5 separate regions of the Homo sapiens genome follow, and all the other regions are linked to region 5. The links are contacts of gene promoters, found by promoter capture Hi-C in human tissues and cell types (Jung and others, 2019). All regions are on one chromosome and are shown on one strand. Each heading gives the region's core, a stretch centred on a gene start or on the middle of the fragment in contact. The rest is flanking DNA. Distances are from core to core; before and after follow the strand shown.

Evidence for each region. The method cuts DNA at HindIII sites, captures the fragments that hold promoters and counts their contacts. A contact is called where the count stands out against the background at its distance.
Region 1: a contact is called between a fragment that was not itself captured here and the fragment with the promoter of SMIM14 in region 5, in 1 of the 25 tissues and cell types used here (hippocampus).
Region 2: a fragment that was not itself captured here is called in contact with the fragment with the promoter of SMIM14 in region 5 in 1 of the 25 tissues and cell types used here (hippocampus).
Region 3: a contact is called between a fragment that was not itself captured here and the fragment with the promoter of SMIM14 in region 5, in 1 of the 25 tissues and cell types used here (lymphoblastoid cells).
Region 4: a fragment that was not itself captured here is called in contact with the fragment with the promoter of SMIM14 in region 5 in 1 of the 25 tissues and cell types used here (aorta).

Annotation. Positions count from the first base shown.
Region 1 is chr4:39,331,233-39,334,310 of GRCh38, reverse strand. All of the region lies in intron 4 of RFC1 (replication factor C subunit 1), which reads left to right. Among named protein-coding and RNA genes, the nearest start is that of RFC1, 34 kb to the left of the region's middle. The HindIII fragment of the contact is 5,172 bases long and covers 1-3,078 here.
Region 2 is chr4:39,355,702-39,358,600 of GRCh38, reverse strand. The region is part of intron 1 of RFC1 (replication factor C subunit 1); the gene reads left to right. Among named protein-coding and RNA genes, the nearest start is that of RFC1, 9.2 kb to the left of the region's middle. The HindIII fragment of the contact is 7,671 bases long and covers 1-2,899 here.
Region 3 is chr4:39,910,919-39,914,137 of GRCh38, reverse strand. It overlaps PDS5A (PDS5 cohesin associated factor A), which reads left to right. Exons shown (of 33, transcript NM_001100399.2): 9 at 412-527. Among named protein-coding and RNA genes, the nearest start is that of PDS5A, 65 kb to the left of the region's middle. The HindIII fragment of the contact is 3,276 bases long and covers 216-3,219 here.
Region 4 is chr4:39,953,842-39,957,066 of GRCh38, reverse strand. All of the region lies in intron 2 of PDS5A (PDS5 cohesin associated factor A), which reads left to right. Among named protein-coding and RNA genes, the nearest start is that of PDS5A, 22 kb to the left of the region's middle. The HindIII fragment of the contact is 7,115 bases long and covers 1-3,225 here.
Region 5 is chr4:39,637,585-39,640,967 of GRCh38, reverse strand. SMIM14 (small integral membrane protein 14) reads left to right here and starts at 2,103. Exons shown (of 5, transcript NM_174921.3): 1 at 2,103-2,229. It overlaps SMIM14-DT (SMIM14 divergent transcript), which reads right to left and starts at 1,828. Exons shown (of 6, transcript NR_183845.1): 1 at 1,674-1,828. RefSeq lists an enhancer at 1,444-2,161. The HindIII fragment of the contact is 11,439 bases long and covers 1-3,383 here.

The sequences.
Region 1 (3,078 bases), core at 509-3,008, 310 kb after region 5:
CTTCAAGTTTTCTGGTTTCATCAAGGCAAGATGACAGTGTTTTCAGATATGCCTGTGGCTTATAGGGTACCATATTTATTTATAAAATAAATATGAAATCCCTTATATTTGTGAGAAATATCTCAATGCTTAGGATCATGAATTTGCTTTTTTTAATGTTATTCTCATAACTGTAAGGAGTATGGGGAAATTGGCAAATCAGGGGGCACTAAATAGGTATTAAAGCAAGAGAGCCAGTCCTTGAGAATTACCCTCCCTTTTTCTTTTCATAACTGTGTTTTACTAGAGTTACTCGTACCTTCCTAGGGGCCTAGAGAGCTGTTTATTTTGTAGTTAACAGAGAAAAGGAGCCTTATTTGCACTTTTTGTTTAACACAATGAAAACATACTTGAAGTATCTTATAGAACACTCCCATATTTTTTCTTTGGAGAGCCATGTGTAATTAAATTTTTCTCAGAAATTATAAAAATGTTTATAAAATTATGCCTGTGTTTAGCTATAGTACATTTTTTAAATCTATAGCTTGAAGACATTGTTCAATTTAAATTCATGTATTCAGAGAAGGGCTCTGTTACCCTCCACTATTGTAAAGAGATCTCTGGTAGAGGAGGCTCATAACAAGAACCTCCCCTTTTAGGGGTGATGTTTATACCTATAACATTAGGGTGCACATAAAAGAACAGAGTGATGTATTTTGTTTTTTTGACAGCCGTTTTGCTATTTTCATGAGGTTTTTTTTTTTCAGCCTCGAAATTTGGGCTTAATTTTTGATGGCTTCATGAGTCCATTGTATAGTTAGACCATAATTTATATAAAAATTTCCCCGATTTCAGCATTTCAGTTGCTTATACTTTTCATGTTCCTAATAGTGTGATGACTAGACTAAATTTATATGCAAATATTTGTCATCACCTCTGATTATCTCCAAGAGTTACTATGCTAAAGGATATGAACTTCTTTAAGGTTCTGGTGTGTTCTACCAAATTACTTTCTAGAAAAGTCACACTAATTTACACTTTTATAATTAGTGTTTTTATTAGTACAAACTCATCACATTTTTACCAATATTGTGTATAATATTAAAAAAATCTATATGGCTACCCATAGGGTCATAAAATTGTAAAGGGGAAAATCTTAAGAGTTCGTTTGGTCCAACATTTTACAGAAGATCGCAGTGAAACCCAGATGGTTAATTAAAAATAGTAAGTCAAACTTAGGTTAGAATTTTAGTTTTCTAGACTTCTGGTTCAGCACTGTTTTTCCCAGAGAATACTACTTTTATTTATTGAATGGCTGTAACATGGCTAGGTGCTACACTGGGCACTTAGCCTCTAAAATTTTGTCTTATTGTATTTGTAGAGATGGGGTCTTGCTCTTTTGCCCAGGCTGGTCTTGAACTCCTGGGCTCAAGTGATCCTTCCGTCTTGGCCTCCCAAAGTGCTGGGATTATAGGCGTGGGCCACCATGTCCGGCCCTTCAAGAAAAATTTAATCTTCCCAGTAACCTAAATGTTGATTGGCTTGAAACTGTTTTACTATTTATAGAGAAGGGGACGTAAGGAAGAAATAAGGGCAGACTTCAGAGGCTGAATGTGGAAAAAGTAGATAAACTTTTTCTCCCTGTTCAGCGGATAGATTAAGGAAAGTAGGTGGAATTCACAGGGAAGTATTTTGACTTAATATAAGGAAAAACTTTCCTAAGGAGTATAGTATTTTGCTATTTGCTAAAGAAAGAAGGTGAATTAACATTGCTCGATTTTGAAAGTATTTAAGTCTAGTCTATTTTTTTGTTAGAAATGTAGAAAATGGGGTCTATGTATTGAATAAGGAGGTAGGACTAGTTGACTAAAGATAATTTATTATAAAGTTCTTGGCATGTAGTTTAATGCTCAATAAAAACTTATTAATAGTAAATAAAAAGATACCATGAAGTCTGTGAAGCCAGCAACAGAATAGCAGAGGTGCTGATAAATAATGAACAGAAGTAAGCAAAGAAGAGTGGAGAGGAGGTAGAAACTAAAGCACTGACTCTGAAAGCTAAGGGGTCAGAGAGTTCTAGGATGTATTCAATTTGTTGTAAAACATTAGACGGAGAAAAGGGTGTATTAGTCCGATTTCATGCTGCTAATAAAGACATACCCAAAACTGGGCAATTTATAAAAGAAAGAGGTTTATTGGACTTACAGTTCCACATGGCTGGGGACCTCACAATCATGGTGGAAGGTGAAAGGCACGTCTCAAGTGTCGGCAGACAAGAGAAGAGAGCTTGTGCAGGGAAACTGCCCTTTATAGAACCATCAGATCTCATGAGAGTTATTCACTATCACGAGAACAGCGCAGGAAAGACCTGTCCCCATGATTCATTCACCTTTCTCTGGATCCCTCCCATAATGTGGGAATTCAGGATGAGATTTGGGTTAAGGGCACAGCCAAGCCATATCAAAAGGTGTGAAAAAAACATAAAAATTACCCATATTTCCCTAATCAGAGATAAAAATTGTTAATGTTTTATTGATTCTTTTCAGATTTTAGAATGTGAATTTAAAAGTTATGTATATAGCTATAGATAAACAGTGTCATTAAACATACTGTTATGTCATCTGCTTTTGCCACCTAGTAAACATATGAATATATTTCTATGAGCAAATATAGATATTTTTTATAATTTTTATTGCTGTAGAGATTTTGTTACATGGTTGAGTATACATATTAATAGATATTTAGGTTATTTTTTTTCCCATATTATACACAATACTCACATCTCTCTGTTTGTACTGCCATTGTTATGGTTGTTGAGGCCATCTTTGCCTACGTGGTCATTTACTTTTTGTCTTCCCCTTTTCTTGCCCTGTTACAATCTGCTCTCCATAGTAGTTGATCTCACCCACTCAGCTATGGGGTTTTCTGTCATACTGCTTATAAGCACGGCTAAGTGTAGTGGAAATGGAATGTTAGTATTTTAGGCATTTTTAAGGTGGTAGGAAACTAGTAGAGCACCATCATTTCAGAGACAATTTAAGTTTGTTCTTTCTCCATTAAGGGACTCCCTCTTGCCCAGAAGTACAATTGTTGAACTTA
Region 2 (2,899 bases), core at 287-2,786, 280 kb after region 5:
GTGTTGACAACTTCCTTCACTAGCATATAAGCTCTGTAAGGGCAGGGGTCACAAGGAGAGGGAACTGCCATATAGCGCGTGGCTCACGGTGCGTTTTCCACAAATATTAGAGGAATGAATAATTACAAGTGAACTTTATATTTCCACTAAAAATACAAATAAACTAGAAGGTAAAACTTCCTGGTATAAAAACATCTCTCGCACTGTTGCATGACTTTATATCTAAGCTATTAAAACACTTAGCGACAAATAATATTGCCTAGAGAAATACAGTTATTTTATTATGTTGTAGGTCTATTTTCAGTTTGGACTTAATTTCTTTTTTTTTGAAACGGAATTTTGCTCTTGGCCAGGCTGGAGTGCAATGGTGCGATCTCAGCTCACTGCAACCTCTGCCTCCCAGGTTGAAGTGATTCTCCTGTCTCAGCCTCCCTAGTAGCTGGGATTACAGGTGTGCACCACCATGCCTGGCTATTTTTGTATTTTTAAGTAGAGACAGGGTTTCTCCATGTTGGTCAGGCTGGTCTCGAACTCCCAACCTCAGGTGATCCACCCGCCTTGGCCTCCCAAAGTGCTGGGATTACAGGTGTGAGCCACTGCGCTTGGCCCAGTTGGACTTTATTTCTGTGTTCATTTAAGTAGTTTAAATTTGATTTTTTTGGCTCAGAAGTCAGTTGTAAAAAGCTAGCTTCTGGGCCGGGCGCTGTGGCTCATGCCTGTAATCCTGGCACTTTGGGAGGTGGATCATGAGGTCAGGAGTTTGAGACCAGCCTGGCCAACATAGTGAAACCCTGTCCCTACTAAAAATACAGAAAAATTAGCTGGGTATGGTGATGGGCACCTGTAATCCCAGCTACTTGGGAGGCTGAGGCAGGACAACTGCATGAACCTGGGAGTTGGAGGTTGCAGTGAGCTGAAATCGCCCCACTGCACTCCAGCCTGGGCGACAGTGCAAGACTCTGTCTCAAGGGAAAAAAAAAAAAAAGTTAGCTCCTGGATGAATAAAAACCATAATCGGAGTACATTAGCCCTGGTGAAAATGTCAAAATTCTGAAATAAACCATTAGATCAGGCATAAACAGTCTCAAATGCTTTAGTTATCCCAGTTATGCAGGTATGAAAAGATGCTTTTTAAACTTAAATTAGATAATTATTTCCATTTGCTATTTTAATATGCCTGTGTTGATTTGTATTTTTGGATCAGGTACCTGGAAACTTCTGTGATAGAGTATTTCATTGAATGCGTAGTCTAAAGCTCAATGATAGTAAATATTATGACTTCAGAATCTTATTCTTCCCTCTTGCCACAACAGCAGTAGAAATGGGTCTTTTTGCTGTCATGGGAGTGGCCTCTCAGGTAGACTTAACAGATACTGGGGTGAGTAGGGGAAGTAGTTTCTATTCTCTATTTCTGTTCCCTCAGTGTGCTTTATTTCTTCTGTTCTTTCTTTTCTGTGCTCTGCTTTGTTTTCTAAAGATGGATTAAAGAAAGATTAGGAACAGAAAGTAGAATGAAAGCTTCACAAGAACAGAGACCTAGCCTGTTTTGTTTATCCCAAGCATCAAAAATAGTTCTTGGTCCATAAAAGGCTCTGAGTAAATATTTCTTGAATGGATAAATGAATGATTGAATGAAAAAAGTTGATGCGGGCTCTTAAAATTCTTCCTAGCTAGAACTTGTTACTGTTCAAAAGTTTTTCAGACCACACTTATATTTCACTCACCAGTGTTTTCCTCAGAGAAGTTTTTGAGACCCATGCTAGACTGTTAAATTAGTAACATCAATTATAAATCTAGAGATATTTCTGATTTCTTTAAAAAAGTTATTAGTTTGACTTAAAATAAATTTTAAAGAAGAGGAAATGTCCTACTAAAAGTGAAAGTATATTTTTGTTTTTTGTAGCCACAATGTTTTAATATGAGAGTAACAGAAAATCAATTATAGAAACTCAGTTTTATTAACTTAGCTCAGAAATAATATATAATCAGCATTAATTTAATACCTTCTTAAAATTTCTTAGGTAAAGTCATAGCACAAAGTTAATCCCAATTAAAAGATTCTTTTAATACATAATCTTTAAAAACAAATCTACCATTTATTTTGGTTTACATAATCAAGAACCTCTCTTTCTGAGTGCAGTTGTGAAGGTCAGTGGCCTGAGGAATAACCGTTCATGTGTTCAATGAATTTTTTTGTTTTTAAGACGGAGTTTTGCACTTTTTCCCCAGGCTGGAGTGCAGTGGCGTGATCTTGGTCCACTGCACCCTCCACTTCCCGGGCTCAAGCCGTTCTCCTGCCTCAGCCTCCTGAGTAGCTGGGATTACAGGCACGTACCACCAAGCTCGGCTAATTTTTGTATTTTTAGTAGAGATGGGGTTTTGCCATGTTGGCCAGGCCAGTCTGGAACTCCTGACCTCGTAATCCACCCGCCTCGGCCTCCCAAAGTGCTGGGATTACAGGTGTGAGCCATCACGCCCTGCCTACCATTTCTTTTAGAAATGAAATTACTGGGCAAAGGGTATGTACCTTTAAAATTTTGGTAAGTGTGGCTAGATTGCCTTCCATAAAGGTTATACCAGTGTTTTTTTTTTTTTTTTTTGAGGTGAAGTCTCGCTCTGTCACCAGGCTGGAGTGCAGTGGCATGATCTCGGCTCACTGCAGCCTCCACCTCCCGGGTTCAAGCGGTTTTCCTGCCTCAGCTTCCCAAGTAGCTGGGACTACAGGTGTGTGCCACCATGCCCAGCTAATTTTTGTATTTTTAGTAGAGATGGGGTTTCACCATGTCGGCCAGGATGGTCTCGATCTCTTGACCTCGTGATCCACTCACCTCGGCCTCCCAAAGTGCTGGTATTACAGGGGTTAGCCATTGCGCCCAGCCAAGGTTATACCAGTTTTCAC
Region 3 (3,219 bases), core at 604-3,103, 270 kb before region 5:
TGATGTGTGTTTATGTTGGAACGTAAATTGCAGATTTCCTATAAAGTAAGCTTATTAGGGTGGTAACTGTAACTTTGTCCTTCATAGATGTTTTTATAGGGTTCTTAATGTTAGAAGTGAATTGTATGTCTCATATTTGTACAGTGTCCATAACCAATGTATAGAATGCAATTAATCAGTGAAGTAGACATAAATTAGCAGTTGGGAGGGTGTGAAATAAGAGCAAAAACCCAGATGATCTAACATGAAATTAAATCAATTTCTGCATAGTAAGTGAGGACATATGATATTTTAAACTTCTCACAGTTATAAGCAGAAATATGAAATAGTATCTTCTTGAGAATGTTTCAAGATATTTTCTGTAATCTGGTGAATAAAGCTTAGGCTTCACTTTCTGTTTTCCCTTCTTAGAGCAATGATGGAGAAGAGCGATTAGCTGTTGTTCGACTTCTAGCTAAATTGTTTGGCTCCAAAGATTCTGATTTGGCAACACAGAATCGTCCTCTTTGGCAATGTTTTCTTGGACGGTAAGAGAACATATAATTCTGATGTTTATATTTTAGAAAATAGTCAGTAGGGTGCAGTCCACTTGATTAAAACTATACATATCAAAACTTTCATTAATAGATGTTGGTTTCATTGTCATCTGTGTTTCCATCCTTCTTATGGAATAAATTGTATGAAAAATTTTTTATGAAGAAAGCTTAGTATTTTATCTGTGTAACTCTTTTTAACTTCTTTGTGTTAAAATAATGTCATGGCCAGCCGTGGTGGCTCATGCCTGTAATCCCAGCACTTTGGGAGGCTGAGGTGGGCGGATCACTTGAGGTCAGGAGTTCAGGAGACCAGCCTGACCAACATGGTGTCTCTACTAAAAATACAAAAATTAACCAGGGGTGGTGACCGGCACCTGGAACCGCAACTACGCAAGAGGCTGAGGCGGGAGAATCCTTGAACCCGGGAGGCAGAGTTTGTACTGAGTTGAGTTCAAGCCACTGCATTCCAGCCGGAGTGACAGAGTGAGACTCTGTCTAAAAAAAAAAAAAAAGAAAGTCATTAGAATAAATAAACAGCATTGCAGTATATTCTAAGTCTTAAGATCTTTAAATCATGAAACTGAATACATACTGATCCAAATTTAAGAACCTGTGCCATTTGTCAGCCTACCAACTTTTTCATTTACTAGTGCTTGTCGTTTGGGTCTGTAACTTATCTGAACACATTGTATGGTGTGTTTTAACTAATTTGGTATAATTGTATGATTTTTAAGTGGAAAATATGATTGCCATTAACTCAGATAGTTTTTAATGTTTCTTCTCAAGAGCTTAGAATGACTAAATTCTATTTGGCTTGATAGTAGTGTTGACAAATTTATGAAATTCATTAAATTTCTCCTTGCATTCCATTTACCTGTTTTGCTTTAAAAGCTGATTGGAAAGTAGATATTTACTATTAATATTCTGGAGATGTTCGAGATTCTCCGTTGTTTTAGTTCAACTGATTCAGTAGTTGGTGCCAGAATTTTTCTTGATGTAAATTCACCATAATAGTTCTCATACTAATCCTAGGTTCTGAGAAATCGCTGACAAGGCCTACTGCTATCTTAGCAGTTACTTGCCCAGAACACGCCATTTTGAAGGTCTTATAGGAATAAATGCTAAATAGTTGAATAACTAAATGTGACTCCATGAGAATTTTGAATGGTGGGAATGAAGCAACTGCACTTTCAAAGTTATGGGGGAGGAATTCCCTATCCCAGGATGGACATCAAATATTTTTTGTAAATCATTTAAGCAAAAACGCAAGGCTTCATTTTTCACTTTGGTTACTTTTAAAAATGAAATCACCCAATATAAGTTTCTGACACTCATTATTTTACACTCACTGCTAACTGTAGTGGTGTCTCTGATTCATAGAAACAAGTCACAGTCTGCAGTATTATTTTCCATAATTATAGCGTTAAGTGTTTTGATACTTTGTAATTACTTGATCATTAATAATGTATAATTTTTCTCTGCCAGCCAGAGAATTACAAATCCTAAATGCAGTATTTTATTAACACATGAAAATTTTATCTGGGTAAGAAAGTGGGAGGCCATAGACATTAAGACGTTTATTAAACAATTTTTGTTTACTTGGTTTTTTTATGAGATCATTTCAAAAATAAAAATACTTCCAGCTATTTCAGATCACATTATTTATCATTAATCAGTATATTTTAAAAGTTGCCTAATAATCTGTTTTAAATTTGAGGGTTCCTTACCTTATCCTTAACATGTGCATTTTTTTTTTTTTTTTTTTTAATTGAGACGGAGTCTCACTCTGTCGCCCAGGCTGGAGTGCAGTGGCGCGATCTCTGCTCACTGCAAGCTTCGCCTCCCGGGTTCATGCCATTCTCCTGCCTCAGCCTCCCAAACAGCTGGGACTACAGGCGCCCGCCAGTGCGCCCGGCTAATTTTTTGTATTTTTAGTAGAGACAGGGTTTCACCGTGTTAGCCAGGATGGTCTTGATCTCCCGACCTCGTGATTTGCCCGCCTCGGCCTCCCAAAGTGCTGAGATTGCAGGTGTGAGCCACCGCGCCCGGCCAACATGTGCATTTTTGAGTCTACATATTGTGTTGTATGTTAATTGAATTCTTAACGTATACTAGACCTTTAAAAGAGCACTGTAATACAAGTTGGTGCTGGCCAAAAGAAACTTAAGTGGTGAGACAGTGCAACACAAATTTTTTTTTTTTTTTTGAGACGGAGTCTTACTTCATCGCCCAGGCTGGAGTGCAGTGACGTGATCTCTGCTCACTGCAACCTCTGCCTGGCGGGTTCAAGCAATTCTCCTGCCTCGGCCTCCTGAGTAGCTGGTATTACAGGCACCCACCACCATGCCTGAGCTAGTAACACATTTTCTGCACTCATCTTTGAACTTCTGGATTTGCCCCTTATATATGGTTTGCTCTCTACCTCAAGTTTCCCAGTGTTTGTCTCATATAAACCTTTCGTCTTGTTTTGTTTTGAGACAGGGTCTGTTACCCAGGTTGGAGTGCAGTGGCACAATTATGGCTTACTGCAGCCTCGACCTCCTGGGCTCAAGCAGTCCTTCCACCTCACCCTCCCAAGTAGCTGGGACTACAGGGGAATGCCTCCACGCCCGGCTGATTTTTGTGTTTTTTTGTAGAGACAGGGCTGTGCTGTGTTTTCAAGGCTGATCTTGAACTCCTGAGT
Region 4 (3,225 bases), core at 75-2,574, 320 kb before region 5:
AATAAAAATTTTTCCTAAGATTCATGAAGATTGAGTCAGTGTAGATAAAGAGAATACTTTGTTTCTGGCAGAAGTTATTTAGAAAATGTCTTTTGGCTGGGTGAGGTGGCTCACGCCTGTAATCCCAGCACTTTGGGAGGCTGAGGCAAGGCAGATCACTTGAGGCCAGGAGTTTGAGACTAGCGCGGGCAACATGGCAAAACCTCTTCTCTACAAAAAATACAAAAATTAGCTGGATGTGGTGCAGGCGCCTATAGTCCTGCCCACTCTGGAGGCTGAGGCAGGAGGATTGTTTAAGCCAAGGAGATTAAGTGTACAGTGAACCATAATTGTGCCGCAGCACTCCAGCCTGGGTGACAGAGTGAGAACCTGTCTCCAAAAAAAAAAAAGTAAGAAAATCTGTCTTTCTTCTTGAAGCATATACCTATAAAGCTTTGAAGAAAGGGTAAAAACCAGGTAGTAATAAAATAAAATTGTCTTTAGATGTTTTTGAAATAATGTTGTATAGCTTTGTTTGCTGTGTTCAGTTCTCATATTTCCTTGATATTTTATCAGACTTTTTTTTTTTTTTTTTTTGAGACAGTCTCGCTCTGTCACCCAGGCTAGAGTGCAGTGGCGCAATCTTGGCTCACTGCAACTTCTGCCTCCTGGGTTCAAGCGATCCTCCCACCTCAGCCTCCCAAGTAGCTGGGACTACAGGCATGAGCCACCATACCTGGCTAATTTTTGTATTTTTTGGTAAACATAGGGTTTCAGCATGTTGGCCGGGCTAGTCTCCAACTCTTGATCTCAAGTGATTTGCCTGCCATAGCCTCCCAAAAGTGCTGGGATTACAGGTGTGAGCCATCGCACCCTGCCAAATGTTTAATACTGTAATCCACTGCTGCTATCTCAATTGTTCTATACGTTTTTCTTATACTGTTTTTTAAAATTGTTCTTTTTTTTTTTTGAGAGGCAGTCTCAGTCTGTTTCTTAAGCTGGAGTGCAGTGGCGAGATCGCAGCTCACTGCAACCTCTGCCTCCCATGTTCAAGCAATCCTCCCACGTCAGCCTCCCGAGCAGCTGGGACTACAGGTGTGTGCCACCACCATGTCTGGCTAATTTTTGTATTTTTAGTAGAGATGGGGTTTCGCCATGTTGGCCAGGCTGGTCTCGAACTCCTGACCTCAGGTAATCCACCTGCCTTGGCCCCCCAAAGTGCTGTGATTACAGGTGTGAACCACCACACCGGCCTTAACTGTTCAAATTTTTAAACAGACTTTTTTTTTTAGGGCAGTTTTAGGTTCACAGCCAAATTGCTGGAATGTACAGAGTATTCCCAACAAACCCCCTGGACTCACTCCTCAGTAACACTCCCGTCCCCCAGGAAGACTTCCCCTCCCCAGTCACACATGCCTCCCACAGTAATGCCTCCCCTCAGTCACCTTCCAGAGTGGTACATTTGTTTGTTTTGTTGTTGTTTTTTTATGACAGAGTCTCGCTCTGTCACCCGGGCTGGAGCACAGTAGCATGATCTCAGCTCACTGCAACCTCCGCTCCCCCGGGTTCAAGCAGTTCTCCCACCTCAGCCTCCCAAGCTGGGATTACAAGCATCCGCCACGACACCTGGGTAATTTTTTGTATTTTTGGTAGAGACGGGGTTTCACCATGTTGGTCAGGCTGGTCTCGAACTCCTGATTTCAGGTGATCTGCCCACCTCAGCCTCCCAAAGTGCTGGGATTACAGGTTTGAGCCACCACGCCCGGCCCTAGAGTGCTATATTTCTAAACCAACATCACAACATTATCACTCAAAGTCCATATTCGTGTATTGTTTCCTTGTATATTTTTCAGCATGGTAAATCCCAAATGTTCTATTCATGTAATGCTCTTGGTTTAAACTCTAAGTTAGATTTAGCATATTGTCCTTTAATATTCCTAATTTTGGCTTTTCTTGTTTGGCCAGGGTGAGCTCTAAGTGCTGATTTACTTTAAATCCTGATGATAATCAGCATGCTTTATTTATTTATTTATATTTTTTGTTTGTGACAGGGTCTCGCTCTGTCACCCAGGCTGGCTGGCGTTCAGTTTCATGATCATGGCTCACTGCTGCCTCCACCTCCTGGGTTCAAGCCATCCTCCCATCTCAGCCTCCCAAGTAGTAGAGACTACAGGCATGTGCTACCACGCCTAGCTAATTTTTGTATTGTTTGTAGACACGGGGTTTGTCATGTTGCCCAGGTCTCAAACTCCTGGACTCACGTGATCCTCCTGCCTCAGCCTCCCAAAGTGTTCATGCCTATTAACAGGCATGAGGCTCTCTGCCTGGCCTCATAGTTATTTTAACGTCTCTGTCTGATAGCTTTAGCGTTTGGTCCACCTCTGTTTCTGTTTTTTTTTTTTTTTTTTTTTTTTTTTACTTATCTCTTGACAATGGGTACTTATTTATGTCTTGACAATGTATTTCAGGCTGGGCACGGTGGCTAACACCTGTAATCCCAGCACTTTGAGAGGCCAAGGCGGGTGGATCACCTGAGGTCAGGAGTTCAAGACCAGCCTGGCCATCATGGTGAAACCCCACCTCTACTAAAATAATACAAAAATTAGCCGAGGGTGGTGGCACATGCCCGTAATCCCAGCTACTCAGGAGGCCGAGGCAGGAGACTCGCTTGAACCTGGGAGGTGGAGGTTGCAGTGAGCTGAGATCGTGGCATGTTTTGTTTTTTTAAGAGACAGGGTCTCGCTCTGTCACCAAGGCTGAGGTGCAGTGGCACCGTCATGGCTCATTGCAGCCTCAAACTCCTGGGCTCAAGCAATCCTCCCACCTCAGCCTCCTAAGTAACTGGGACTACAGGCACATGCCACCCTGCCCAGCTAATTTCTTTTTCTGTTTGTTTGTTTTTTTTTCTCCGTAGAGATAGAGCCTCACTATGTTGTCCAGGATGCTGTCAAACTCCTAGGCTCTAGCAGTCCTCCCACCTCGGCCTCCCAAAGTGCTGAGATTACAGGCGTGGGCCACCATGCCCTGCCTCATCCCATTGTTTCTTTTTCCTTCACTTAGTACCTCAGTTGGGGCCTATTGGGTTTTGTTTTGTTTTTAACTTGGTAGATTGTATGAAAACTTCATTCCAAGGCATTCTGACTTCATTAGGACACTGAAGTTTCCCATGAACTTTTAATATTGCATATTGTGCTTTGGCTATTGAGAGTGTGGTGTCAGTTCACAATAGGACAAATGCAGAAATTG
Region 5 (3,383 bases), core at 854-3,353:
GCCTGTAATCCCAGCACTTTGGGAGGCCGAGACGGGCGGATCACGAGGTCAGGAGCTTGAGACCATCCTGGCTAACATGGTGAAACCCCGTCTCTACTAAAAATACAAAAAATTAGCCAGGCGTGGTGGCGGCGGGTGCCTGTAGTCCCAGCTACTCGGGAGGCTGAGGTAGGAGAATGGCGTGAACCCAGGAGGCGGAGCTTGCAGTGAGCCGAGATCGAGCCACTGCACTCCAGCCTGGGCAACAGAGCAAGACTCCATCTCAAAAACAAACAAAAACAACAACAACAAAAACAACAACAACAAAACCAAGTACTGAGAATTTTGCAACAACCAGTACAATTCTAGTTTTGTACCATACTGTTCTCTTAAACACAGCTGTGTTCTCAAACACATACGTGCCCATGGGTGCACTCAAGCATAACAGATTTTGTTTGGAGTTGCACAAATTAAAGACCCTTTGGTACAGTGTCAGCTCATTAGGGCACCAGATTCCATCTCAAACTCTGAATTTGAGTAAGCAGAGTTCAAGGTTGCAGATTAAGGGCCAAAATCTTTATTCTTTGTATCTACTTTGCAATTAGTTAACTGGGAAACACTTCAAGTTTTACCAGAAACCTTTAATTTTCTAGAAACCTTTACCTGTGTTCAATATCCACTTTAATTAAAAAGCTCTTGTAAATGATACTTATTTGGGGAAGGTGATTCAGCTTGTCGAGGGGTAATTAACCAAATTGCTGAGGTGGAAGTCTGGGTAAGTGAAAAGGTCATCAAATCTGAGTAAGAAAGCTTGCAGCTTTCACCTCTCCGTCAAGACTGGCAGAGAGGCACTTTCGTAAAATCTTTGTTTGGGATTCACTTTTACTTCGCCACTTGTCCCATTTTAATTAAAGCTTGCCAACTGAAGGACCTAAGAAAACAATATAGTTCTGCATTTTGCCAAATTGGGAAATTTCCAGGGCCCCCAAAATTTAGCGGGGAGACTCAGAGACTAGAATGGGAGAATAGGAAGCACCAACTTGCTCTAAAAGGAAGATTGGGTAAAAGCAGCACTCTTATTCCAGCTCTACAACCAAAGCAACTAAGACTTGGGCTGGCTGGCTGCCTAGCCACAGCATTCCCTCCTACTTCCCCATTATCTCCTGACCAGCAAGTCATCTTTGGTCACATATCTTTAATTATTTAGTTTGAGACAAAGTCTCACTATCACCCAGGCTGGAGTGCAGTGGCGCGATCTCGGCTCACTGCAACCTCCGCCTCCCGGGTTCAAGCGATTCTTCCACCTCAGCCTCCCGAGTAGCTGGGACTACAAGCGGGCACCACCATGCCCGGCTAATTTTTGTGTTTTTAGTGGAGATGGGGTTTCACCATGTCGGCCAGGCTGGTCTCGGACTCCTGACCTCAAGTGATCCGCCCACCTCTGCCTCCTGAAGTGCTGGGATTACAGGCATGAGTCACCAAGCCCGACTACATATTCCTTTTATTAATATTCCTGTTGAACTTAATTTTGGTCGTTTCCGGTGCAAAAATGTTAAGGTAAAGGGAATCAATAACAGCCACATTTGATGTATTTTTGTAATCCCCATCTCCAATTTCCATCCGGGCCTGAGTAACCAAAAACACTTTACAGGGGTAGACTGTCTCAACAGACATCAATTTGTAACCGCGTCTACCTCTACCACGGTATTCTAAAGACTCCGTCGAGGAAAACCTTTAGCTCGGGCAACGGGAGACACATTACAGAACACTGTCCGCCGCCGAAGAAACAGACGATACGCGGGAGAGTTGAACAGACACCCGGCCTCGCCCCGATTGCTTCACAGTCCTCAGCCACGCCCCTCCCAACCGGAACTACATCCCCCGCACTCCGCGCCCCCACGCACAGCGTGTCGTAGGCGTCCGAAGCCGCAGGCTCCCGCCCGGCTTCCCGGGACGCACAGGGCAGGCGCTGGGCATGCGCATGCTCGGCAGGCGGGGCAGCTGGAGTCTCCAGGCGCTGCAATCTGTTGCGCCGCCGCCCGCGGGAGCCGGCAGATCCGGGTCTTGTGGCTAAGAGTGACGTGGTCACTCGAATCAAAACAGAGGAGGGGGAGGAAGCCGGCGGCCAGAAACGGCAGTGGCAGCAGCGTCCGGAGCAGCCGCAGCCTTCTGGAAGCTCCAGGCGGTCTTTCTGCCGAGCCTCGGTCCCGGCCCCCATCCTCCCCGCCCCATCGGTTGTTGTCTGGGCGGGTGAGTGTCTCCCCCTCTCCCACCAGCGTTTGCTGGCTCACCCTCCCCTCGCCCCAGTTTTTCCTGGGGGCTCCTCAGGCTCTCGGGGACTGCGGCGGCTGCGGCAGAACAGGGCTGTTTCTCGGGCTTGGCGTTTCCTCGGCCGGGCTGGCGATTCTGCACCGGGAGAAGCTCCGCTGCTGCCGAGCCCGCGTCCCCCGCGAAGAGCCTGCAATTGGGTATTCTCTGCAGGATGTCAGAGTCGGGGCTTTGCAGGCAAGGGCAAGGTAGCCACGGGTGGTTTTATTTTTAGGATCAGATTGTCGACGGGTGGAGGCGTATCATGGAGTAAAAAGAGAGTCGTAGCTGGAAGGAAAAACTCACAAATCCTGAAATCCACACTATCTTGTTTACCGTCTCCCTCAGCCCTTTCTGGGTACGGTGAAGTCACTAGGATGCGTCCTTTGTTGTGATAAGTGAGACGAGAAAGCTGACACCCTGAAAGCGAGAGCTTTTTAGCTCCTATTGTGTCGCGAATTTAAAGGATCCCCTTTTTCTGTTTGCTCAGTAAGTGGAACCAAGGCTGACAGTAAAGAGGTAGCAGCACCCTTTATTGGAACTAATAGTGTGTGATAAACTGGTTACCGGCTCTACCCGAAGTCCCGTGTTGCTGTTTAAAGGCAGACTTCACCAAAGTGGCTGTTTATATGTGCCAGGATTTTAGCCGAGATGGTTTGCTAGCTGTAGAGAGTCGGTAGGATGTTTTCAGTTGCCCCAGTTGGCAAAACCGAGGCTGTGGCCTTAATAGAATGTGTTACTTTTGCATCGAGAGAGTCGGATGAGCTTCACACACGTAATAGCTACATTTGCAGAAGAGACCTTCCAGTTTGTGTGTGTTATTGTCAGAAACAGCAGCTGTACATATTATAACTTGGAAAGCGTAAGACCTTCCAGGTGTTGGAGTGTTGGGACGCTTAGGAGGCATTCTTGCTGCCCAGCGCTGTGGAGGTTGCAGGAGGCTTTGCATTCCCTTCCACTTAGGGTGGCTGGCCGCGCAGATTCCTTTAGTGTAGCCTGCTCCGAACTTGCCGCTCTCCGCGGCCGTCGACAGCACTGCGACCAGAAAACCAAACCTTTTTGTCCTAACTTTTTTTTTTTTTCCAACGTGGTGTTTA